Linked DNA regions of Homo sapiens: regions 1, 2, 3 and 5 are each linked to region 4. Evidence: promoter capture Hi-C in 16 types of primary human blood cells and fetal thymus (Javierre and others, 2016). All regions are on one chromosome and are shown on one strand. Each heading gives the region's core, a stretch centred on a gene start or on the middle of the fragment in contact. The rest is flanking DNA. Distances are from core to core; before and after follow the strand shown. Region 1 has its middle 38 kb from the start of LINC02144. Region 2 overlaps TMEM161B (transmembrane protein 161B). Region 3 has its middle 56 kb from the start of LINC02144. Region 4 holds the start of LYSMD3 (LysM domain containing 3). Region 5 overlaps TMEM161B-DT (TMEM161B divergent transcript).

Region 1 (5,738 bases), core at 3,055-5,554, 2.8 Mb after region 4:
CTCAATAAGTATTTTTCAAATGCAAACTTGATGAATGGCACTGATCTATGTGCTAAAGATGAGGAACAAAAAATGCAAGATCAAAACCCTGCCCACCAGTCACTTACTGTCCTGTTAGAGAAAATTCGTAATGCAGAATTGTATATGAGTAACAAAGGGACGTAGCTGAATGAATGTTATGGATGCTACGGTTCCAAGACAGAAGAGCTAACGAATGCATTATTCATTCTAAAGATGAGACTTGAGTACAGCCTTGGAGAATGGGGAAGGAGAAGTATGAAAAAGGCTTGAGGTCAGAAATATGCTTTATTCAGTTGACAGTGAGGATTCTCAGCTGTCCAGAGAGGAAGGTTCATACTGGCAAGAAGTAAATTCAGTAGGCAGGAGAAATCTTCATGGCTAAAATCTCATGCAGGGTCAAACTGTCTGGGTTTGAATTCTGGATCTATCACTTACTAGCTGATGATTGTACCTCTGAAGTCTCAAAGCATCTTACAGAGCCATTTGGGAGATTTTTTGAGTCCATTTATGTAGGGCACATAGCACAGTTCCTGGCATATTAGCGCCACCCTGTAAATGTCAGCTACTATCAGTAGAGGTGGTGGAGAACCCTATATGAAATGGATTTGAATGCCAAAATGAGAAGTCAGAACTTGACCTTGTAAGTAAAATGAAAGCTATCATTGTTTTTTTATTTGTTTTTTAGTGGATTTGAGATATGATATAGATGATGTTTCAGTAAGATTGATCTGGTGGCATTTATGGTAGAGGATGAGTTGGAGAAAGGAAGCAGGAGGACGGGAAGGCAGCTGGGAGGTTACTGGCATAGTTGGGGCGTGAAGCACTAAAAGTCTGCACAGAGAAATTTTAAAGAGAAAAAATCATTGGGATACTGGATCTTAATCATTTGGGGTCATAGGCTTCCTAGTCTATCTCACAAAAACTATGGATCCTCTTCTCACAAATGTGCATATACTGTTGCACACGAGCACAAAAATCTGCATGCAATTTCAGGGGTTCAAGAAGCCCTCCCTTAGAACCCAGATGTAGGGAATAAAAGAAAAGGCAGAGAATGAATGTACTATCATGAAGAAGTACAATAATAATATAATAAAATAAAAACAGCAGTATGATAAAGTGAATCTAATAGATTACATTGGATATATAATATTGCTACTTTGTATTTATGTTTGGGAACTGTTTCGTAATTTTAGTTTGCCCCACAGAGATGGACATATTTTTATATCTCAACTGTAATAATTGTATTTTCTTTCATCTTTGATTTTTTTTCCTAAAAAATATTACTTCATTGAACTGATCTGTCAAATGCGACTTTCACACTCAACTGGTAAGTACATGATATCATATTCTGCTTCACACTGCCAGGTTATGCCCTTCTCTCCTGTTTTGAAAATTAGTGCCTGTGTCTGTGTCTTTTTTATTTAAGTTTCAAAATTATGTAAAAAACATTGTTCAAAATTATTTTTTCAGTATGAAAATTAAGAAGAAATCTGTATTGGAATTTTCCTTTCTCCATTTCTAACACGAATTAAATCTGGAGACTGGGAAGGCAAGTCTATTGCATCAGTCTCACCTTCACTTACCATTGATTATCCCTCTGCCCACTTATTCCTGTGTTCTCATATCAAAATTAAGCTCACAAAATAATAGCCAATGCACCCCAAATTGCAATTTCCCACAATCTTTTGATGGGATGAGGTCAAGAAAGTATAAGCAGAGAATACACCTTTTTTTTTGTGGATCGGGTAATTCCCAGTAGGCACTCCAAATGCGTATCTTTAGGTTCCTTATTTTTATTTTATGATTGGAGCAAACTTATTTATACTTAATTTTGTGGCAAATACCAAAAACAACTTGCATCTCTATTAAAACTATTCATATATTACACAGGATATAAATATAAGTTTTTACTAATATTGTATCTATTTCCTTCTTTCAGATTAATTTGTTAGGTAATTTCAAATAACATTTTATGAATATTTACCAAGCTTTCACCATCAATCCTGAGGATCAACAGTCTAATCCTTCCACTTAAGCCACATCTAACATAGTACTGGATCTGCTGTTTTGGAAACTAATTGATCAGATTCTATTAAACAGACTAAATTGAGGTGAAAATAGACCTAATGACCATCGATTCATCAGTTAGGTCAAAATTTTTGTCTTTTCATGTATGTTAATCACATGAATATTCTTTTAAAGTATAGCAATTATCATACACATCTAATTCTCCAAAATATGCATGAAACACTGGTATTAGAAAAAGAGACTGCAGTATTTGAGAGCTTTAGGGAATCCTATTCTTGTCACTAGAAAGATGTGGATGTACCATGACTCAGAGATACTGATTTTATACGATGCTAAATGTATTATAATAAAATTAGCCCCTATGATTCGCATTTACTAACAGCTCTGACAGTTTCCTCACCTTGTATATAGATTCTAATTGGAATTTTTTGAAAATATTTTTCTTATGGATTTAATTTTTTCAGTAATGGTTGATATTTTTGTGCTGAAATGGGCTTAAATATAACTTTAAAACAATTTAAAATAAGACAGTTTAAATTAGAAATAATAATTGAGTTTAAGTTAAACCAAGAATAATTAAAAAAAAAAAAAAAAAAAGACCAACTTGCCCAGTCTCACTGACTTTAAGAGAAACGAAAGCCTTAAGCACAGTCAGTTTGGCATAATGGAAGCCTCACTGAACTAGAAGCCTGAGGATGATGCTGTCTGCTGATTACATTCTCTGTCATTCAGAACCACTGAGGCCATTTTCTGTTCTGTAAAATGGGAATGAAAATATTTTCTATATCTCTTTTGCGGGGTAGTTGTAAGGATCAAATATAATAAAGAGTGAAAACACATTAATCTTAAGTGACACAAAGTTATTTAAAGAATGGATTAGTGCTATCCCAATTATTGACTTTTTTTTCCCCTACAATGGTAATTTTTCTTTTTGATTTTCATTGATGGTCTCTGCCCTCACTTCCTCTGAATAAAGCCTTGGAACTTCTATTCATAATTGGATAAAATTAGAAAGAATCCCACATCAAGTAGCAAGATGCCTTAGCTATTATTACATTGTAAAATTCCAAAGAAAACCATTTAGGCATGTGGGCCCCATTTAGGGATTTCTGTTTTATAAGTCATGTTGGTGTAGAAGTGTGTGAGTGGAACTCCACAAATTATACTTAACATTTACTCCTAAGTAAGCTGGTAAATCTGCGTGAAAGGAAGCCCAAGTCTCCACTCTTGCTTCCAGTTCTCATGCTTATAAAGCGAACTGTCAGCCAATTCCAGCAAAGCCAAAGGGGGAAGATGTTTTTGTAAGCTTCCTTTAACTGGCAACATTTAGTGCACCACACTAATATCCCAACAACATCGCTATGGCAACCTCAGGCAAGCCCTGCGCATCCCTTAACTTCCAGGCCTCGGCAGAAAACTTGGCTTGCACCACCAGGAGGTGGGGAGGTGGGGAGCCGGGGAGCTGGGGAGTGGGGAGCTGCGAAGAAGGTTGGCTCCGGGCTCTACCCAGCATTAGAAACAAGGGCGGGAGGGCTGGCGGGTGAAGGGGGACGACACCACTTGATATCCTTTCTAAGTGATTCCTGTGTTACTCTGACTTTGTTTTAGTTATCACGTGAGCTAATTACAATGCTAATTAGCCCAGTTTACGGGGACTGCTGTGCATTTGTACACGAGGGTTCTTTGTTTGATCTGCTACATCATAAGCTTACCAGCACGGAGGGATAGCATGTATCGTTGAACGTGGAAGAACACACCTTCATTTGTGTTAATGAAGAAAACTACTGAAAACCAACAGACTAATTAAGGGTAACGATGAACAATTTTGATCAGCAATTATTTTTTAATATCGAAGTTCGCTCCTGGAAAGAGTAGAATGGGGAAGTTCATCTTCCAGCTTTCTACCCAGAAAAGTAGTGAGAGAGAGATCCTGCTTCATTTCCAATTCTTCTCCCACAAACTGTTTTAACATATAATTTAATCGATGCCTTTATTTCAAAAGAAAAAAATAATTATAGAGCTTGTTGGGATCATTTTCTGAAGAGAGGACATTATGCGTGCATGAATTCCATCGGTGATCTGAGGAGGAGCAGGCTGCTTGGACCATTACCCATCATTGTCGAACAGCAGAGTAATTAATTGGGCAAATACGTCTAGATCTGGTGAATTCACATGCACAGTAACTGGGCAGCAGCAACACACACTCTTTTACTGTGAATAAAATAGCAATAGTTTTATGTGCCTTTGTGCTATGTAAAATGTCTTTTTTTTTCCTCTTGGCTTTATCCATTCCAGATTATTTTGTCCATCTTTATGTACTCATTTGAAAAGAGGTTGCTTATTACAAAGGAAAAAGATATCTAGATGAGCAAGTTTGAATTCCATGTCTCTGTTTATTTTTAAAGGAATGAATTGGGTTCATTATTCTTTCACTAATTTTTAAAATAATTTAATATTTTCACTAAAATGAGTTAAATGAGCATGAGGAAATAGTATTTTTTAAACTAGTTCCAGGAATGGACAAGCTCCTAAAAAAATTATTAAGGCCTTCTAATTACCGTACAATATTAATTCAAAAATTTAATTTTTTATTTAAGTGTCATCTACAGAGGTAAAAAATAAGGCACAGCATTTGTCCTGGAGAAACTTCTTATAATAGTCCTCTGTAAAGTATAGATAATCAAACAATCTAACACTGTTTATTTGAACATCAAAAAGTGGACAAATATTTAGAGGAAATAATATAATTGTTTTAATGCAAATCATCTCTGATGGCTAAGTCCAAATGTAATAAGAAAGCTTAGGTTTTGATTTAAAAGGAAGTCAATTTTCCAGCATCTCCCCTTCTGAAGAGGTTAAATGATGATTCTTTTTTTTTTTTTTTCCGATCACATTTTAATCCAGATGACAGAGGACTTGCACTCCTAATTCAGACTTTCTGGTAAAGCTCAGCTTGTCACAATGTATAGCTTTCTTTTCTTTGATAAGGTCAGTTTGCCAAAAAGAACAAAGTGCATATGAGTAATACATTACTCAACCACTTGTATACATACATCTATTTTTCTTACCAGGTCTCACTATTCAGAAAGGTACAGACATGGCACCATGATAAAAAGGGTCATTTAAAAGACTTCGCAGAGGCTCTGTACTGTGAAGGATTGAATTTTCACTTGAATGCCTACATTTTCACATCTTTTTCTTTGCAGAAATATTCCTTTTGAATGGCAGACTGCAATTGGGTAGGTTTTTTTTTTTTTAAGTCACTGACCAGGAATATATAAAATATTAGAAGGCATTTGTCCCAGTGGAAGAACACAGTTCACTACCAGGTACCAGGTGGTTATTAAGAAAGTTATACAACTTTATCTCTTCAGATTGAAGAGCTCCTTCAGATAAAAGCCTTAAGTTCAGTCAAGGTGGAAGGAACACTAAGGTCTGTCACTTCTAAATGACAGACAATTTAAATAACTTGTGAAATCATTAGCCTCAAAGCCATCTACCTAGTAATTTTTCATAATCACATCCAATGTGTATTCTTAGGAACACACAAGCAGACTCCAGTTTATCTTTCTATCTACTTCAATATTTGATCACAACATTTTGAGAAATATGCTCATGACTAATTTTAAAACCTCTAATTTTTCTTTAATGGTTTTATATTTCCCAAATACACTTAAAGGGGTGGGGAG
Region 2 (4,952 bases), core at 1,125-3,624, 2.3 Mb after region 4:
TGCTTCACAGGTATTTACTTATTTACTTACTTATCACAGAAATCCTTTAGGGGAAAGAGACAATAATGATGGGATGTTGTAAATTTTTGGAAGTAGAGAGGTTCGGATTGTGAAGAGGAGATGAGATAAATAGTAAGTGGCACTGCAAAGAGAAAGGGAGATTTTTCTCTACTAGTAGAAGTGGCTTATGAAGAAGGAACTTCAACAAGCTGTTCTGCTCCATTTTATAAATGTATGATTATAGATTGCCAATAGTTAATGCCGTGAGTACTTGATACTGTAAGGCTATGGCTGTTTTTAAAGTAAGATTAATACTTTTATCTTTGTGATAAGTAATTAGAAGCCCTTTGAAATACTAATCTAAATTATTTGTTTATATAGCTATCTTATGTCTGCCCTTTACACAGCGCTTAGCTGATTTTTGTTATCTTTTACCTGGTGATTGCCACCATTTGCCCCAATGTGCTGAACCACTTAGAAAAAGCAATGCCATAGTTTCCTGCTTTCTTTTTCTAAAAGAAAAAGTCATACAGCAAGGTTCTGTTACTGAAGCCAAAACTTCATTAACTTGATTATTATTGAGTATTTTTGTTATTTCTGGAGATTTTGGGCCTTTTTACAATGAATATAAATGATCAAATTCTTATGGTTTATGGGGATATGTATTTAAGTATTCGTGTTCCATAACTAGAACCATTTGTTTCTGCATTCGCCCTTGGTCAAGAGAGAAAGCATGACATTTTTTTCTTGAAAGGTTTGTTTTTATTGATGGTTAAATTTATTACTAGAATTTTATTTGTTTAAATTAATGCATACTTACTCCTTCCTCCCTTCCTCTGTGAGATTAATTAACATCAGGACAATGAAGCTTCATTGTATCAGTTATTACTAGACAGTTTAGTTGTTTGGGTAGGATATTGCGTGTCGAATATAGCAGTCTTTTCTTATCACAATCTTTACGAAAAAGTAGAAAAGAGCCTGGATAACTGGAATTAGAAATAATTGCCAACAAAATATGTTTTCTAGTCAATAGGGACAGATAAGCACGCTTTAAAAACATTCATTGTACTGCAGGTCATAACTTTAATTGAGACATTTAGTTCTTGATGATTAAAACTATTTTCTAATTTGATTTCAACTAACATTTACTGAATGCTTATTCTTGATTTTAATAGAGAGCTTCCCACTTAATCATTCTTATCAGAAGTGTTTAATGTCATCATAGTTCTTTCTCTTGATAGCCACTGAAAAGAAAATGTTCAGGTTATAAAGAAAATGAATCATTTAAAAAGAGAGAATTGGCCACGTATCTGAGAGATAGATCTTTTTTAAAACTATGGAACTGTTGGCATTCACAAGTCTTTCTTAAGAGAAATTCCCACAAACTACTAATTGAGGTGAATATGATGGGTGGTAGGCTAGGTTTACTCCTTTAATTTGGAACTCTGATTTCCTTTCAGGTCTTATAAATATTAGCTTATTTAATCTTTATGAGAATGGATTATTATTCATTGCCATTAGCAATAATTACACAGGCTTTGATGGTGGTTTAGAAATGTTAAATCTGTGAATGCCAATGATTAATTGTGTATTTAGCTAAAATATTGCAATCATAGACAACATGATCTGTTTGGTATTTTGGAGATCATTTGCCAGCTCTTGTCATTTTGTAGATAAGGAAAGAATCCCAGGGAGAGCTTTTCTAATTGCTGTGTAGCTAGTTAGTGACGGAACTACTTCGATCCTAGTGTGTTTAATTATTTAATGCATTAAAAATATTCACAATGAATGCATTTACCTAACTTAACAAATTTTCTTGGCTTTTGTGTATGGCTTAAAATTTAATTAAGCTGAAATTTTTATATTAAATTTATTTAATGAAGCTTTCTCAGTGCACTTTGAGCAAAGTTTTGATTTTTAGTTTGTTAAAAGGAAAGGTGTTTTTGTTTTGTTTTGTTTTGTTTTTGTTTTTGAGACAAATTCTTGCTCTGTTGCCCAGGCTGGAGAGCAGTGAGTGGTGTGATCTCAGCTCACTGCAACCTCCCCTCCCAGTCTTGCGATTCTCGTGCCTCAGCCTCCCAAGTAGCTGGGATTACAGGCTGTCGCTGCCACTCCTGGCTAATTTTTGTATTTTTACTAGTGAGGAGGTTTCACCACGTTGGCCAGTCTGGTCTGGAATTCCTGACCTTGAGTGATCTGCCTGCCTCCAAAGCCCTGAGATTACAGGCTTTAGCCACTGCACCTGGTCTTAAAAGGAAAGTATTTGTAACACAAAGCTATCTCATTAAAATGAGGAGATTGTCTTGTAAAAACAGATGTACTCCTTCCTTTGAGAAAGGAGAAAGCACAATATATTGTCTTTTACTCTTAAAGTGAATAATTTTCTTTATGCTAAAGTTTAGTGTGTGACACACAGTAGGAACCTGAATGCAATGAAGAACAGTGGGAAAAATTTATGCTTTATCCATTTATTTTATCAAAAGGTAAAGATTTATTCAACTTGTGTTTAATATCTGCCATCTCCCACCCTCCTGGGAATGGAGGCTGAAGAAATGAGATGAATGCCATTTTCAAGGGGGAGAGACCCTTAAGTTAGTGGTCACAATTGAGCATGATACAGGTTATTTTGGAGTTACGCATATGTTCTTTAGTAGAAGTTGGAAAGTCAATGAACGTTTTATAGTGCACATGAATGTTGAAGACTCAGTAGCAGTTGGTCTAAACAAACTGATTTGTACATGTCAAACATGTCTTTTCATTAATTGATTTTGGCTAATGACTTCTTTGAATACATACCTGTAGAGATATTTTCTATAATGTCAGAAAATACTCTTAAGGAAAAGTGACAGAATTTAGGAAGCTTTCTTCCATTGAACCTTTTATTTGTTACTTTTTAGTACTGTAATGAAACATTTATGCATGTCTTGGCTAGAGATTAAGTGGCTTGTTAATATGTTTAAGAATATTTTGTTCCTTGTCAACACTTTAATGACTATGGCATTGCTTTATATGAGATATTACATTATTTATTCAACCTCTTTTAACTGTGGAAAGTTATCTTTTAAAATAAACAACTGTTAATTTGAACACCAATATGTTAAAATGGTTTGTGACTTGTGTTTAATTAGAATGTTTTCTATTGTTATGAAAAAGTATCTTTTTCCTTTCCCTCTTTGTTGTTGGTCTTCCATTTGCCTTGTCATTTATACTGCGGAAAATGTCTTTTTATTTCTAAATTTAATCAAAATCTGATAAATGACTTTATATTGTCATCTTTATCCGAAAGTCTGGAGCTGGTATTTTTTAAGATAGTTACATCAAATTCACACATTCTACTGTTGTAGTTCTAATCTTTAAAAAATTTAGAATGTATCTAGGCATTGAGGATTTATGCTTTTTGACCTTTGAAAGGGTCAAAAAGCTGTACTGAGGTATTGAGGATTTATGCTTTTTGACCTTTGGAAGGACATTAAATTTCTTGTTTTTCTGATTTAGAAAATGGCAAAAAAATTATGCTTTCACTTTTTAAGGAAATTAAAAATGTATTTTATGCTGTAAAACAGTGCTGACAAACCCAATTAATTCTGTAAACAATTAAATTTGGAAATAGATAAATCTGAGTTCAAATTATAGTTGTTGACAATTATGTTTTATAATTCTATTTGTAATATTAAGATGAACTATATGAAATTGCCATTTTGTAGGTCAAGACAATTAAGTATTAGCAATTTCATAGGATTCAACCAATAAATGTACATTAGATATCAATAGGTGTTCTTATTCTTTAGCTGCTTTTCTACCAAATTCTTCTGTTCTTTCATTTCATATTTAGTATAGGCCCCCATTTTTTACTTCCAGTCCAGTTTACTGTGTCTGTAAGCGCTGCAGGTATGTTAGAAAACCAGTGAAGGCCACAGTAGTGGGATACCAGAGATGCTCTATGGGAAGGAAGTCTGCTGGTCTCTTCATGATTGTTTTGTGCTGCTTTTATCAGCTTTGGCATTATATGGGAGAATTTCTCTTCTGGATTAGACAGTCCTCAGACCTACCAAAGAACCTATTGGAAATAACCATCTTCAAAAACCCAGTTTGGGTCCATCAGTTCCACATACATAGTTTCATCACACTTTTCTTCTCAAGTTTCTAGACCTCTTAGTCACATTGCCAGAGTGGTAATTCTGGTTTTTATCTTATGACATGACATTTTTTTCCTCCTTTGAAGACCCTGATCTTGGTGTGGTTATTCTTCAAATTTTTCTTTCAAACCTTGTCCATTTTGGTGCTTTCTTTGGTTCTTTTGATTACCCACTTAATCATCCTGGATTTTCCTATTCTTGTAACCTGTATAATGTCCCATGATGATCAATCTTTTTTTTTTTTTTCCCTTAAAATTTTTTTTACAGTTACAGAGGGTCTCACTTTGTCAGGCCGGAGTACAGTGGTGCACTCATGGCTCACTGCAGTCTCAACCTACTGGGCTAAAGTGATTCTCTCACCTCAGCCTTCTGAATAGCTGGGATTACAAGCACATGCCACCATACTCAGCTAATTTTTTTGTTTTTACTTTTGGTAGAAGGGTGTCTCGCTATGTTGCCCAGGCTGGTCTTGAACTTCTTGCCTCAAGTAATCCTCCTGCCTTGGCCTCCCAAAGTGTTGAGATTATGGACATGAGCCACCACATCCTGCTAAATCAATCATTTTTCTGATGTTTTTACCTAATATGCTGAATCATGCAGATTTGCAGGTGCTTGGCAATCATTCAATCAATTCTATGTTCCTCTTTTGTCAAAATTTTCACAAATTTTAGCTGTCCCTTCTTCCTCTCCTTTCTTTTACAGCTCAACTCCTTACCCCATTGTGGTTCTTAGGAGATGATCTGAGAATTTTGAATTTTGAAATTTGAAATAATCTATAATAAGTTCTTCAAATAACTCTATCTACTGGAAGGTAGG
Region 3 (5,752 bases), core at 3,251-5,750, 2.7 Mb after region 4:
CATTCTGAAAGCAGAGAACCCTAAGTAGAAAGCACTATATTGGATACTTAACCAACTTCAGGCATGACAAATGAAACATTCTGTCAAGATGTGGTCCACTGAATCTACCACAAATAAATGTTATCATTATGAATTAGACGTGTATGAAAAGAGATGATTAAAATTTTACTACAAATTCAATTTCAAAAATCCAATATCTATTTCATTGAACTAAAATTTATCTTACTAACAATGTTACTTCAACTTAAATGAGAAATAGCTTTTCCTCCCTACCCCCACCCACCACCAAAATAACATGAATATAACATATATCACTAGGGGAAAAATCATATTTAATCTAACTGAAACTATTTTGTGGACTAGATGCTAATAACATTTAGACTATTTTTGGCATGGTTATTCAATTTAAAACAAACATTCAATTTTTATTTTGATGTCATATGCATGAGACTGAGGTAATGTTTTCTTCAGGTAGAAGGAAATAACACTTTGTATATACATCACTATAATTTTGCAAGTTGGTCTTTCGAGAGGCTTTGGAAGATATAAAAGAAAAATCTCTATTTTTCTTTAACACTTTGATAAATGAGTAATTTCAGAAGAAAATGTGATTATGCATAGAGAATAAAATTCTATAAAATAGTCTGCTTTCTGTATTATCAACAGTTTGAAATAATTGGGTAAAATATGTGGCACTTTTCATTTTTACTCTATTTCTAATACAAATTGATTCAAATAATGTTATAGTATTGTTAAAAGTGCTAAATAAGTACCAATTTGGGTACAGTGCATTGTTGTTTTATGAATATCTAAACATACGAAATTCTAGTCAGAGATCATGGAAATTACTCAGAGATTATATGTAATTTGATCACAAAAGGCTACATAATAAAATAACAAAACAGAATTACATTTCAATTTTAAGGAAAGTGATAGGGATTAGAATTATTATTATATTTTAGTGTTAAAGCTAAAACAATTTCTAATTTGTTTGCAATTCTTAAATGTGATACAAGAGAAAGTACTCAGGAAAGACACCTCCAACTACATAACAGTGTGAAGATTTGGCCTACCTTAAGTATTATTAGTTCAGTGAGGGTACTGAACAAAATTTTGATATTTTTGTTACTACTATGCTTTATTATTTCTGGGCAATCTAAAGAAGAATTAACATTACAGCACTTTTTTAAAATGGAAAACAGAAAATGTACTTTATAGACACTAAAAAATTCTATTATTGCAACTTAGTTATTTTACATTCTAGTTACTTGCCTAAGATACAAGGCAGTCTAAAATTGCCAACTGATGACTGAATTAAAAATTTTTCATACAGTAAATGACTAACTCTCAGGTTTCTTTTAAGAGACACAAATCAGTAAAGGAACTGAACTAATCAGTACAAAATTAACAGGTGATACCCACTTGAAAAAATCAAATCTAATGAAAATAAAATTAGCAACAGATTCTGTTGTTTAATTATCTGTATCAGCTAGCATATACAAATGTTAAAACTTTTCAACTGAATTGCTGCATTTATAAAAATGTATGCACAACATCATATTTTAAAAGGAAACTATCATCCAACACATAACTTGGCAATTTTTTGTTAGTTAACTGTTCTACTCAAATTCGATATATTGATTTAAATATTTAAATACTTTATTTAAATCTGCATTCAAAGTATGACATTAGGAAGGTGTTGAAATAAAAATACAAAACAAAATTTATAAATTATAATATTTAATGCCATATGTTTAAAAATGTTGAAAGAATGTAATGTCTAAATTTAAAGTCTAAGCTAACAAATCTAGGAGACCCTACAAATGGGAAATATTGATTAACAATTAGGTAACATTTTGAGTACTTAAAAAAATAATTTAATAATAAAATCTAATTTATAAACGCAATTTAAATCTTTGAAAATTAAGTAAAAAAGTTATACAATATGAAGAGATGAAATTTTGCCTAAAACATAAAATAATTTAGTATTGTTTTTATTTTCTGTTTATTATATTCAACTTAAAAATTGTATTTCTTGTGTATATTTTGGAGAATCATTATTCAAGGTGGATTTTAACAAGAAAATAAAAACTTTTGCATTCATTCTTATGTTTTATATTTTTAGAGGAATATTATTGTTAATGCTTTATTTTCAAGTGGTTACTACTGGTTTTATCCAGTATGTAGGAAAGAGTTCACCAAGATGAATTTTTAAGTGTCTGTGTCTGTTTTGTATAAGCCTTGATTCCTATATTCTTCCAAGACAATTATGGTTTCTAGAGACTGTTTAAAAAGTCATTTTCAGTGAATATAATGCTGTTTCTACAAATAATTCTTTCTCTTGAACTAGAAATTATTTATCCTTAATATTAAACTAATAATTTTAGTGTCTGGCCCTTTTAACTATTATTGTTTTCAATAGCAACAACCCTAATTTACTTTTTCTTTTTTCTTTTTTTTTTTTTTTTTTTTTTTTTTTTGCCATGTAACTACCATTTCTGGCCAAAAAAAAAAAAAAAAAGTTTTTTTTACACCTGACTCTTTTCTCTCTCTTTTTCATCCTTTCCTCCCTCCTTTTCTTTCTTTCTTCCTTCTTTTCCTTTCCTTCCTTTTCCTTTCTTTTTTGTCTTCTTTTATTTTTGGAGGATAACGTTACTGAATCAAGTAGCTGTTTAGAAGGAGGAGCAAATGTTACTACCTGTAGTCAACTGGCAAGAAAAATGAAAACCTTTATCACATGAGAAGTATTTAAAGTAAACAGATTTACTCAGAGGAAGGCCTGAAAAAACATGGAGTAGAAGTTACAGTCTGGCACATAAACTTAAATCTTGTTTGGGAATTTTTTGGTGGAGTGTCTTTCTAAAATGCAGTCTGCTGATTTATTTATTTATTTTTTTAAAAAGGCTGACAGTTAATTAGCACAGAGTCTTATTACAGAAGTCTCCTCTAAAGCAGACATATTCAAGTTATACTGAGGTGATTGTCATAAAGGGGTTGTTTGCTGTGGCGCTCACAGATGGCAGAAAAGACAGCCCAGGAACGCAAACAGCCTGATAATCAAGATAGCTTTAAAATATGGGTGAGTTTTCAACTCTGATTCTGGCAGCAGTCTCTTTTCAAATATCTTGGGTTTTATGTCCAAGTGGTTTACTTTAAAGCAACGTTGTCATCAAAGGAGTCCCAGAGTCAAGAATAATTATGATAATTACCCAGAATTGCACCCCCCAATAATCATAATAATAATCCTGAATCTTAACCAAGTATAATATTGTTTGTGCAATACACTGCTACATTCAAAAAGATGAAGTGCTAGACAACTACGATTTATTCTTAACTGACAAAGTAGCTATAATTGTATGACTTTCTAGGATAATGGTTTAAACAAAAGTAAATAGTAAAAAAAAAAGTCCCCCCACCCTGCCCCCCCAGAAAAGATTGGAAAGCTTAGCTGTGTTTAGTGCCCATTGATGAAAGCAGTGTTCTCTGATCCATGCTGCTATTGTTGGTTTTAGTTTAGCTCCCTCTCAATCAATATCTAACAGGGCATGACTTAATAAGGTTTTATAATCTCCAAAAATGGTGGGGGGGAGGGTGGTTGTGGTATTGTCATTCATCAAAGGGGGCCTTTCAGGTTTCTTTGCTTTCACCTGCTGGGACCCATTTGGTCTCTTTCAAAGAGAATGCAATGACAAAATGAATGAGAAATGCTAGAATAAGAGTCCCTTATTCTACCCAATAGTATAATCAATGGGTACTTGTAATCCCTATTGTACCTCACAGAGGTAGTTGTAAGACAATTAAATCTCGCTTCTCAGGCAAATGATTTTGGTAGTTAACCTGAAACAGCCAACAATATTGAAGAGAATGAATGCATTTGAAGCAATGATGTAATGGGGTACTGCTTGGCCAGAAAAGCATGCATGTGTATTGATGTGCATATCTATATGTGTATGTTTATTTCAATACTCTATGTCCACAGTTTTCATGATTCATAGGTCCTTTGATATTACGTGGGTAAGTGGCAAGGATTTTAAACAATTTCATAATCTGCCCTTTTAATTTATATTTTAAAAGAACACAAAAATATTCTTATTTTTGCAGAATTATATACTCTAAACTGTAGTTTCATAAACAGAAAACATTTACATAGTTAACATCAGTTTGATGTGACAACCAATTTAGTTTTAATTTCATTTGCATCGGCTAAATTCAATTTCGCTTTCCCTCCTTACTGAATTGCTTGAATGTCAAAAGGAAGCTTGTAGTCTTTCGAAGAGATACTCATTTCAGCCTGCATTATTTGTTCACCTTCAGTTGTGTGGACTTCCTATTTTATTTCAAGTATAGTCTATCAGGATTCTCATGGTTTGTCCTTTTTAAGAAGGAATAAAAATGTGCCAAGTGACAAAATTGTGTAGCGCACACAAATTCTAAAAGATTCATGGAAAAAAAATTATACATTTGTTAGGAAGTCTTGTACTTATTGATAAATATTAAATACAAAATAAACGGAGCAAAGAGATTGCTGTATCAGAAACATAACATAAACATGCATTTTAGTTCAGAATAATTTAAAATTTTAATTGTTTAATAATTTGAAAATTAAAGGGCCCTGCCTTTAGTATAATTTAAATATACCTTTAATTTCTCATATCTCATTTATGTTGAAAATATCCATTTTCCTTTGCCAAAATTCTCTAAGAAGCCTCAGTTAATTATTATTTATATTTAGTCCAAGCTTTATTCCTGAGGCAAAATCCTACATTTAATTACACACACAAACATGTAATAAACATACTTTTATCTCTGGAGGTACACATTTTCTTCTCCACCTAAGGGGATTCTAATAAAGAGCTATTGATTTGGGAGATCTGTACTCCAAAAATACATTGACCCAAACATACAGATATCACAGATGTATGCTGTGCACAAAGTGTGTATGTCTTTTCATTAAGTTATGCAGACATGTAGCTTCCTTATATGTAAATAAAATCGCTCTCCATTGATGCTTGTACACCTAATTCTCTCAATTATCCTTAAATATTGAAAAGCAACTTTCAGGGAACTAGGCATGTTGCCCTATATGACTTCCAAGGCAGAAATATTGGTATCGGAATTCTACATACTTGTAGATTATTTTTTAAACCTGTTATTTTTCTATGTTTAGATCATAGAGGAATAGAAAAATCCCTTAGAAAAATAAATTGACCTAAAAAAAGATGTGTTTGCTCCGAATGCTGAGTTTAGTGAAGAGTGATGCACCTGACTCCTCTGGATACTTCCAAATGAGTCTGGCTAATTGGGGTAACCTAAGCCAATGGCCATTTGAAAGACTCGAGGTCAGGTGTTTTATTGCTGGGATAGTATTCAAAAAAATGACTGTCAGGGGTGAACGAAGAATTATGTCAAGAGCATTCAGCATTACTGCCACTAAAAAGAGAGGAGGGGAAAAACATTGTGAAGAAAAACATGTCATTTTCTAAATGAGCTAGGGGAGGAGGATAGGGCAATAATGTGGCCTTCAGCTGTTGGTTTATTAGGTTTCCATTCCCATGATCCACATCTGCGTTAGGCAGAAATAGTTTTACTTTTAATACAATTGCACTCTACTACTTTGCTTTCTTATGGAGTAAAAAATAGCTGTGAAAAACGTGCAAATGAGGTTTGTTCTGTGTGGCTGTTGTTTCCCTATCTCCTATGCTATTTTCCTGGTTCTATAGCAAATCTTAGCATTGTTGTCTGATTTGCCATG
Region 4 (5,280 bases), core at 1,193-3,692:
GTGTATGTGTATATGTGTGTCGGTGGGGTACGGGGGGTAGGATGAGGGATGCTTATTTGAAATTTTATTCCATAGAAATAATATCATACCTCCTATTTTTTCTTCCTAAAATAGACTAAAATACATTTTAAAGATCTTTCTACACGCTTCAGTCATTCAAGCTCCATAAGTAAGGGGAATTTGTCTTTTTAAGCACTGTTTTTCTTCAACAGAAACTTATTAGGTAAATGAATGAATAAATCAGCAAATGCCAGATTAACTTCACTCTTCTGAAACCAAGTATAACATTATATTGTTTTAATGTACCGGAAGTATCAGTCAACTACTGATAAACATTTAAAATATTTTCAGATTTTGGCTATTACTGTGCAAACATTCCTGAACATATCTGTTAAATCTTGCACATATGTGTCTGTAAGTAAATCTAAGGTAATTACTTAGCAATGTAATAGTTCAGTCAGTTGCATTTAAAATTTTGATAGATATTGCCTAACAGGTTGCATCAATTTACACTCTCACTTCAGTACAACTTCTACTCTAGGGCAACTCACAAAAACTAAACGTTAGTGACTAAAACACATATTCCTAGAAATGACATATTCTTTCATCTATAGCGTTTTAACAGAAACTGTGTCAGGTGAAATCTTGAAACACTAAAAATCCTTTGGCTCTGCTGAGCACTGGGGACATCCTTTTTCTCAAAGACAAAATGCTTGTTCCTACTGGCCGGCTTTTTGGAACTTGGCCAAAATTCACGCTAACTGCTTCTTTTGTATATTCTAATAATAAAATATAATCCTATTCTTCCATTTTTATAAAAAGTTTAATATTTGCATCCTTGTTAAATACAAATAACTATTCAAGAGCATGCAGATATCTTTGAGAAAGTTATTTATATGAAGGATACAGGTATCGGTCCTATAGAAGTGCTTGAAATCTATCACTTTGGCTCTCACATTAATTCCGCTGTCTATTGACATTAAAATAAGAAAAGTAACCTATAGACAGAAAGAAGGTTGTATTCCCATTAACATTCATGAGGGCTAAGCAGCCGAAGTCCTACATATCAAGCAGGGAATATATCCTTTGTCTGCTGATGAGAGAACGTCTCAGTGATAAATGGTTACAGACAGGGGTGTCATGAGGGCAACAACACACAGAACAATTCAGACAAACTTTTTAAAAAAGTCTTCTCCTGCAGTTTTTTTTTGTGGCGCTGGGAAGCACAGTGCCTATCCCTGCTAATAAAAGAAAACTATTGCAATGCAAAACTCCTAACCTTTGCAGAGGCACTTACCAGAAAACCAAAAACATACTCTTTGAAAAACAATTTAAAACCAAGCTTCAAAGGCTTTCTAATGTATAAATATTCAGACATTCTGAAAAGCACTGCTCTGCACCCTGCACCCCAGCTATTTGTGCCTAAAATGGATATTGTCGTAACAGTTAGCATGGTTGTCAAAGTGCAACGTCTCTAATATCAACACTGAGAGACATCAGACTCATTAAAATGCTTTACATTCATTAATTAGGTTGGTGCAAAAGTAGTTGCGGCTTTTGCCAAAGTCATACATAAATTCAAACACATTATGATACTCATTTAACACATTTGTGATAAAAATCATGTATGAAGTCATGAGTTTATTTAATAAGCTAATATTCCATAGAGTCCAATGGTGACTACCAATGACTCAGTTAATTTTCAAACCAAAATAAGTTAGATTACAATTTGTTGACTCCCTTGACTCCTCGAGCCAGGGAAAACATTTCCTGGGGCCTGACTCTAGGTGGCTCACTTCCCTCACCTAAAAACAGGAAGGGTGAGACAACCCCCTCCAACCCTCGTCCTCGGTCCCCCAAGGATTTCTCTCCAGAATTCTGCCTCTTCTGCAGCAGTCTGGAGTCTTCAGCATGAAAAGGGTAACAAACATGGCGCAATTTTCTGAAACCGTGATGTCAACAGTGTTTTTGAGGTGTCCTTTCCCACCCTAAAGAAAATTCGAGATGCACAGCAAGAAAAAAATGCAAGACAGCTCCCCGACACATCCTGAGCCACGCCTCGTCCTCAGGGTGCACCCGACAGTCTCTGCCAGCGCAGTGTGGACGCTGGACAAAGACGCAGCCAGTAGGTCGCTGGTGGTCGCGGGTTGGATCCGCTGACTTGGCCACCAAATCTTTTCCTCGGGGAGTGAAGCGGCACGGAAGGAGCGGAGTCAAGGGCGGGGCTGGGGATTGGACCCGCCCCCGGGCCCGGGGATTGGACCCGCCCCCGGGCCCCGGAGGAGTCCCTGCGCCTGCGTGCCGGGCGTGGACCTGTGGTTGGACTCCCCCGTTTTGGGCTGCCCTCCGCGTCCTCCCCCGCCCCTTCCCACCTCCGCCCACTTGACGCGATGACGCATCTCAGGTTTGCGGACGTGGCGGCGGCGTACGGCCCGGAAGGCGGAGACGTTGGCGGCAGAGGCGGAGGCGGACGGGGTCAGCCCAAAGCAGAGGCTCGGCCATGAACTTACCCGGGACAGCGGCGGCGGCGGACCTTTTGGCCATCTTCTCGCAGAGTGCTCCCTGCTAACGGGGACAGGTAAAGATGGTGGCAGGAGGTGAGGGTAGCCCGGTCCAGGAGGGCGGGGTTGAGCCCCAGCTGCGTCCTCACGGGAGGCGCTGAGCCTCGGCCACAGGTGTGGTGGGGGCTGCAGGGCCGGGCTCGGCCCGTGTGGCGGACACCCCCGAGACAGGGAAGAACTTCCAGACCAGCCCTGCCAGGCCCTCTTGTCACACTGTCGGGGAAACTGAGGCTCAGAGGAAGGACGCCTACCTGCTGGATTACCTGGGCAGCTAATTTCCCACCCAAACACAGCATTTCTCCCACGACTTTATGTTGGCGTGAAATATTCGCTGACGGCATCTTGTCACATCGTTCAAGTGTCATGCTGTGACAGAAGACTCTGAGACGTAATCTTCGCTGACGATAGCAGGGAAAGAAAAACTTGACGTGTGGAATACAGAGGGAGGAGGTAGTTAAGTTTTAAAAAACAAAATTGTCCCTGGCAGCGGATAGGGTGCCTTTGATTCTGTCCCTTTGCAGCTTTAACTTGTGCCCTGTGACCCTCTTATTGCACCTTGCTTAGTTAAAGAAGGTCAAGGCGAAACACCCAGCAGCCATTCTACAGTACGAAGGTGTTTGGGAAACCGTTTTCAGTTACAGACTGAGCTGAAGAATGCTTTAACACTGTTTTGTGGCCCCTCGTAATCTAGGTAGCACGCAGGCTTGTTCCAAGTTTCTGAAAGGGAGTTCGTGCCTTTTTCCTGCTCTAAGAGAATTAAGAGAGGTGAATAGAATTGAGCCAGATGACTTAAATATTATGTATTTTCTAATCTCTGAGTAGTAGACTGGAGTGATCGCCTGGGTCAGTCTGTTCACTTCGGTTGAAGACACAGCCAGTTCTTGATCATTCAGAATACCCAGATTTGTAACACGATAGTCAGCTGCCTGCATTTCATTATAAAGGGGAGTGGAGAGATAGTGAGACAGGTGAAGTTCTGACCTTTAAATTATATTTAGAAATATATCGTGGAGAGAGGTTGATAGAAACAAGTATCTAAAATGGCTTTGGGGCATTGCTTAGTGATTTTCAGTTAGCTGCACTACTAAGCCAATTTTGAAGTTCTAAGTACAAATTATTAGGGTGAAACTGTCTAACAAGACACATAAGTAGGTCGGTATAGCCAAGTGTAAATTGCTGTATATTAAGTCTTAACTTTTTTGATCATGGATGCCTTTTGAGAATATGAAGCAATGAAAATTCTCCCCAGAAAAATATACATATGTATAAAATTTGCCTGGAATCTACAGGATTCAAAGACATTCCCTAGGTTAAAGACACAAGATTAAAAAAAGACCTGGTTAAATGAGTGGAAATAAAACTGTTATCCTTGGAGGAAAAGATGTGGTCATGACTTCAAAACTGCTTTTGAGATATAAAATGTGATAGTTTTCTTTAGTTTCATAGCTGTCAAGTTAGGAATCCTAGTTCTTGGTAATAATGTAGCACTTCAGAGAACAGTTGAAATAATCTACTTAACATATAGCTATTAGTTATCTGTGTTATCTGAATAGGAACTCTTGAGCTTTTAAAGCATTATAATATTGCCATTAGAGCAAGGTCAGAAAGTGCTTTTCAAGGGTTGGATTCAACTATATTAAATAGTTTTAAAGCATTTTATGATAAGTATATGCCTAGAAAGTACAGGTTGGGTAGTCCTTACCTGAAATGCTTGAGACCGGAAGTGTTTCAGATTTCTTTGGATTTTGGAATGTTTGCATATACATAATAAGATACATTGGGGATGGGACCTGTCTGAACATGAAATTTGTGTTTCATATTCAACTTATACACATAGTCGGAAGGTAATTTTATATGATTTGTGCACAAAAGTTCTTGTACCTGGAACCATCAGCAGGTAAAAGTGTCACTATCTCAGCCACCCTTGTGGAAAATTTGTGGTTGTTTGGCATCACCGTCATTCCTAACTCTGAATTTGTATGCTACTAATAAGCAGTCATTTTCTTACACTTTTTCACACATAAGTGCTTAACAGTAAAAAAAAAAAAAAAAATACCATTAATACAGTGAAAAAATAATGTGTTCAGGGTACCTAAGCACATCACCAGAATACCTGTACAGGTTTAGCATTCCTAATCTGAAATCTGAAACGTCAGTTGTGGAATTTTCCATTTGTGGCTTCATGTCAGCACTCAAAGTATTTCAAATTTCAGAGTATTTAAGATTGGATTTTTGGGTTAGGGATTCTCAACCTTTGTAATTTATTGTCATCCATTTTATATACTCAGAGTTTTGGAGTTGGTCTTTTCTGTTTTTTGTTTGTTTGTTTTTGTTTCGCTTGGTACTCATCCATAGTATTCAAAAAATAGTGAGTCTTTGAGATGTTATTTTGCTTTGGCTTCCATGACATAACACTTCCATGGTTTCTCCCTCTTCTGGACACTCCTTATCCATATTTTCAGGCTGATTTCCTTTCACCAAGATACTGAATTTTGGACTTCTTCAAGGCTCAGTCTTGGACCCTCTTCTTTTTCTATACTCTCTAGGTAATATATGTACTCACAAATTCATTTTCATCTATGTGCAAATTAGTCATGAAATTTTATTTCTAACCTAGACCTTTTCTCTGAGTTTGACTATATAGCCCATTTGTCTATTTGCCATTCCTTTTTACTATCTTAGAGGAATTCATAATCATAGCCATGCACCTCCTCCCCCA
Region 5 (5,002 bases), core at 1,767-4,266, 2.3 Mb after region 4:
TTCACACTTACATCTTAAAGTCATCTGAAACTACTTTTTCTGTATGGTGTTAGGTAGGGAGGACCAATTTCATTTTTCCCCCATATGAATATGCAGCGTCATCTATTGAAATGATCTAGCTTTCCCTGCTGGTATGCAATGCCATCTCTGACATAAGTCAAGATTCCTTACAATCAGGATTCCTTATAAATCAATTTTTCCATCTCTAAGCCAGTATTACAATATCCTAATTACTATGGTTTTAACAGATTTATTGAGGTACAATTCACATACCAATTTACTCATTTAAATGCACAACTGAATTGATTTTAGTGTATCTACAGAAACGTGCAACTATACATTTTAGAACTTTATTGCCTCAAAAAGAAACTGCACCCTTTAGCTGTCACTACCTCGGGCCCCCATCACCCCAAACTTTGTAAGCCCTAAACAACCACAATCTATTGTCTCAATACATTTTCTACTTTATACACTTTGTTTAAATGGAATCATAAGTGGTCCTTTGTGACTGGCTTCTTTATTTCAGCAGGCTTTCAAGGTTTATCCACATTATAGCAGGTATTAGCAGTTCATTCCTTTTTGCAGCCAAATATATCCCATTATATAAAGGTGTCACTTTTTGAGTATCTTTTCATGGATAAACATTTTATCTTTTGATGGATATTTGAGTTGTTTTTATTTTTTTGCTGTTACGAATATCTACAAGTCAATTCTATCTTAAATCTGCTTCTGGAGTATCCTGAATTCTGCTTTTTGTCATACAGACTTTAGAATCAGTTTGTCAAGCTCCTTGAAAAACTCATTTGGGATTTGTATTGCAATTACCTTCATTGTGTAGTGGAGAACTGCCATCTTAACTCGAGTCTTTTAATCATTGAACATGGCAATTTTAAAATTAGACATTTTTAAATGCCTGTCAATAAAGTTTTGTAATTTTCTACAGAGGTCTTCTATACCTTTTGTTAAGTTACCTAATTTATATTTTTAAAGGAATATAGTAAATGGTATGTTACAAAAATCATTTTCTAACAGTTCATTTCTGCTGGAAAGAAATGCAATTCACTTTTGTATATTGATAGTCATATTATCTGTTTTCACATTGCTATAAATACTGGAGACTGAGTAATTTATAAAGAAAAGGGGTTTAATTGGCTCATGGTTCTGCAAGCTGTACAGGAAGCATAGTGGCTTCTGCTTCTGAGGCAGCTTCAGGAAGCTTCCAATCATGGTGGAAGGCAAAGGGGGAGCAAGAGCAAGAGAGAGGGGAGAGGTACCACACAATTCTAAATTACCAGATCTCCTAAGAACTATTTCAAGGACAGTACCAAGAGGATGGTACTAAACCACGAATGAGAAACCCATTCCCGTGATCCAATCTCCCACCAGGCCTCACCTCCAACATTGGGGATTACAATTCAACATGAGATTTGGGTAGGGACACAGATCCAAACCATATCAATAGTATATTCAGAATCCTTGCAAAGCTCTTCAATAATTTATCTGTAGACTAAGTTATGTTTATTTACAATTTTTAATCTTTTGTTTTTCTTGCCTTATAATGCTGGCTAGGATCTCCAACATAGTACTTGTTCCTGATTCTAATGGACTGCTTCAAATACTTCATCTTAAAATATTGTTGTTGTAGGTTTTATTGGCTCAAGGAAGTTCTACACAATTCTAATTTGCCCAAAGGTTTATCTATGTCTGTTAATTTTTTCAAATAGTTTTCTTTTCCTGCATCTGTTCAGATAGCCAGATAGTTTTTCTAATCTCTTAATATACTAAAATACATTCCTGGGTTAAATTCAACCTGATCATGTTTTATTATCTTTTCTTAAAAACACATTTTCTAAGGTCTGTTTTATTTAGGATTTTTGTCTTTGCGAATATGACAGGGCTGTAATTCTTACTGCCCTTATCAAATCATTACTGCCCTAATAAAATCAGGGCAGTAATATTAAGCTTCTGTAACCTTGATGTTAAATTTGATAAGGGCAGTAAGGGCCAATTCCACAGTATATAAGTGGAATATACTGTGGAATGGTTTGTGTAAAATTGTAATGATCTGTCCTTTGAAGGTTTGGCAAAAGTCTCTGGGCATCATGATTTCTTACATCAACATCCCACCATTTATATTTTCCATTACATGGCTTTTGAAAAGTTACATTTTCTGGAACTGCCTACTTCATTTATATTTTCCCATTTATTATTAAGTTGTTCATAATTTCTCATCAATCTCCACAGCATTTGTAACAACATCCCCATTTTCACTTCTAATAATATTTATTTATTTATTTTTTTCCAAGAGACAAAGGTCTTGTTATGTTGCCTAGGCTAGTCTCAAATTCCTGGCCTCAAGGGATGGTCCCGCCTTGGCCTCCCAAGGTGCTGAAATTACAGACGTGAGCCACCACACTCAGCTTGGACAAAATATAAAACAAACATCTGACAGCATTAGAGACAATGAAATATTCAGAAGGAAAAAACAGAGTTGTTGAATCCAGCATTTACATTAGCTTTTCCTCTGGAGTATCTTCTGATTCCTGAGGTGATGGCTGAAAAGTTGAACAGAGTTTCTAACCCATAGAATTAAAAAGACAAAAACTGAAGTTTAGGGCCTGATCTGGTAAACTCTGCATGCTTGAGTTGGGACTTCAGAGGTCTACATTGTGAAAGTATGAACAGGAAATAGACCTGCCTATATTCTAATTGTCTCTATCACTAACCAGATTAAGAAGATCTTAGATTACTAGTGTCCAAAGGTCTTGCCAGGAGACATAAATTCTTTCTTTAGAAAATACCATCATATTGGACTTCAAAGTATAGTTTCCTCATATACAGTTCAATCAAAACAATTCTGACATTCAATTAAAACATAACCTAAGCCAAGTTTTATATATTTATAATGTTTATAAAATAAATAATACAAAATAACATAAAAATAAGGGACATAAAAGCAAGACAATGTGATAACAGCAAGAAACAAGAAAAGTGTCAGATAATAGCAGACACCATAGTTATTAGATACAGGTTTTAAAGTAATTATGATTAGTATGTTTGAGGAAATAAAAGATTGAGATATTGGATAAACAACTGGAAACAATAAAACAGAATCAAGTAGAAATGTTTGAACTGATAACCAAAAATATAACTAAAATAAATGCTTCAAGAGAGATTTAACAAATTCGAGACTACTAAGAGAAAATAGTGAACTGAAAGTTAAGAAGAAATATTCAGGATGAAACAGACAAGAAAATAAATGGAAAATACAAGGGACAAAGTGAATTGTCAAATACAAATGTAAGTGGAGTATCAAAAGAAGAGGAGAAAGGAGAGTGAAAGCAGAAGCAATGTCTGATCAAACAGAGCTAAGAATTTTCTCAAACAGCCTAAGGACATCACAGCCAGATTCAAGAAACATTATCAATCTCGAAGCAGAAAAAAACCACACACACAAAAAAACAAACACAAAACACATGTGGGCACACCAAACTTAAGACAAACCTCTTAAAAGTAGCCATCCAAAAAAAGATTACCTTTGAAGAGAAAAAAACAAAATGGACATTATGTCTTAGAGGACATAATGGAAGCCAGAAGGAATAAAATATATCTTCAAAATGATAAAATAGCTGCTAATTCAGCAAAAACGTTCTTAGAAAATGAAAGTAAAATAAGACAGTGTCAGGACAGAAAATCTGAATGAATTGTTACCAGTAGATATTCGAAGAAATATTAAAGTATGTCCTTCAAGAAGAAATAAGGTCTTAGATGGAAGCTCAGATTCCAGGAACCACGAAACACAATAGAAAAAGTAAATGTTTTATACAATATGAAATGTAAATTCATATTGTATAAAAAATGTCTTGAGAATTTAGGAAATACATATTAAGAATATACAATGTATATAACATGAGGTGTGGCAGTAAATGAAGTTGATGTGTTCGCAGGTCCTTACATTGTCCTGGAAGAAGTATAATACCAAATTATCTTAAAGATGATAAACCAAGGTTCCATGTTTTAATACCTGAGGTGAACAGTAAAAAGATACTAAAAGACATCTGTCAAGCTTATGAGGTAGAAAAAATGGAATAATTAAAAATAATCTAAAAGGTCTATAGCCATACCACCCTGAATATGCCTGTTCTCATCTGATCTGGGAAGCTAAGCAGGGCTGGGGCTGATTGGCACTTGGATGAGAGTCTGCCTGGGAATATCAGGTGCTATGGCCTAATTAAGAAAAAAAAAAATCAAAAAGGCAAAAGAAGACAAAATGAACATATAAGAGGTGGGACAAATAAAATAAGAATAATGACAAATTTAAATCCAAGTATGTTAGTAATTATGTTACATGAAAGCTGACTCTTTATGCCAATTAACAAATTACCAAAGTGGATTTTAAAAATATATTATCTTATATTACTCTTTGGATTAAAATGCTCTCATTTTTTTTTCCATTGCACATAGAATAAAATCTAAACTCTTTCCTGTCTTTCAAAGGTAACATGATCTAGCCCTTTCCTATCCCTCCAAAGTTACAGTATTTGCGTCTTAAGTCACTATTCTCTAACCATGCAGGCCTTCTTTTGGCTCCTGAAATATTCCAGGCTAGATCATGCCTTAGATTTTGCAGTTGTCCCTTCTGCAAGCAAAGGGTTCACCAATTTTTACAAAGCTGGATTCTCTTGTCATTTACACAGCAGCTTAAATGGTATTTTAGTTTCTTTAATCACCTAATCTAAAATAGTCATGTTTGAATTTCATGCCTAGTACTTACCACTGTCTTCTGTTTTTGTTAATTTATGGCTTATTACTACTAAAATGTAAATTTCCTGATAGTAGGGACAATATCTGCTTTATTTACCACTATTTCCTCAGAGTGTAGAAGAGTGAATGATACAGTTTTATATTCAATAACTATTTAATGGATGGATAAAGCTAATTAAAGTTTTAAACAGATAGGTACTTTCAGACAGTTTTGTCTTTTTACTGCTATTGGTGGTAC

Evidence for each region. Contacts are between HindIII fragments. The CHiCAGO score rates a contact against its expected background, and 5 or more counts as called.
Region 1: a fragment that was not itself captured here is called in contact with the fragment with the promoter of LYSMD3 in region 4 in 3 of 17 cell types (total B cells, naive B cells and M0 macrophages); the score reaches 7.0 in total B cells.
Region 2: a contact is called between a fragment that was not itself captured here and the fragment with the promoter of LYSMD3 in region 4, in 6 of 17 cell types (naive CD8 T cells, non-activated CD4 T cells, naive B cells and 3 more). The highest score is 7.4, in naive CD8 T cells.
Region 3: a fragment that was not itself captured here is called in contact with the fragment with the promoter of LYSMD3 in region 4 in 1 of 17 cell types (naive B cells); the score reaches 7.3 in naive B cells.
Region 5: a contact is called between a fragment that was not itself captured here and the fragment with the promoter of LYSMD3 in region 4, in 8 of 17 cell types (non-activated CD4 T cells, total B cells, naive CD8 T cells and 5 more). The highest score is 13.9, in non-activated CD4 T cells.

What each region holds. Positions count from the first base shown.
Region 1 is chr5:87,768,669-87,774,406 of GRCh38, reverse strand. No RefSeq gene overlaps it. Among named protein-coding and RNA genes, the nearest start is that of LINC02144, 38 kb to the right of the region's middle. The HindIII fragment of the contact is 1,092 bases long and covers 3,759-4,850 here.
Region 2 is chr5:88,254,290-88,259,241 of GRCh38, reverse strand. The region is part of intron 1 of TMEM161B (transmembrane protein 161B); the gene reads left to right. Among named protein-coding and RNA genes, the nearest start is that of TMEM161B, 12 kb to the left of the region's middle. RefSeq lists an enhancer at 1,594-2,247. The HindIII fragment of the contact is 977 bases long and covers 1,886-2,862 here.
Region 3 is chr5:87,785,820-87,791,571 of GRCh38, reverse strand. No RefSeq gene overlaps it. Among named protein-coding and RNA genes, the nearest start is that of LINC02144, 56 kb to the right of the region's middle. RefSeq lists enhancers at 2,992-3,738, 2,637-4,377, 3,739-4,485. The HindIII fragment of the contact is 480 bases long and covers 4,261-4,740 here.
Region 4 is chr5:90,526,746-90,532,025 of GRCh38, reverse strand. LYSMD3 (LysM domain containing 3) reads left to right here and starts at 2,442. Exons shown (of 3, transcript NM_198273.2): 1 at 2,442-2,578. RefSeq lists enhancers at 1,786-2,045, 2,671-3,171 and a silencer at 2,156-2,405. The HindIII fragment of the contact is 4,420 bases long and covers 1,345-5,280 here.
Region 5 is chr5:88,273,485-88,278,486 of GRCh38, reverse strand. All of the region lies in intron 2 of TMEM161B-DT (TMEM161B divergent transcript), which reads right to left. It also overlaps the pseudogene RNA5SP187. Among named protein-coding and RNA genes, the nearest start is that of TMEM161B-DT, 7.1 kb to the right of the region's middle. The HindIII fragment of the contact is 2,104 bases long and covers 1,965-4,068 here.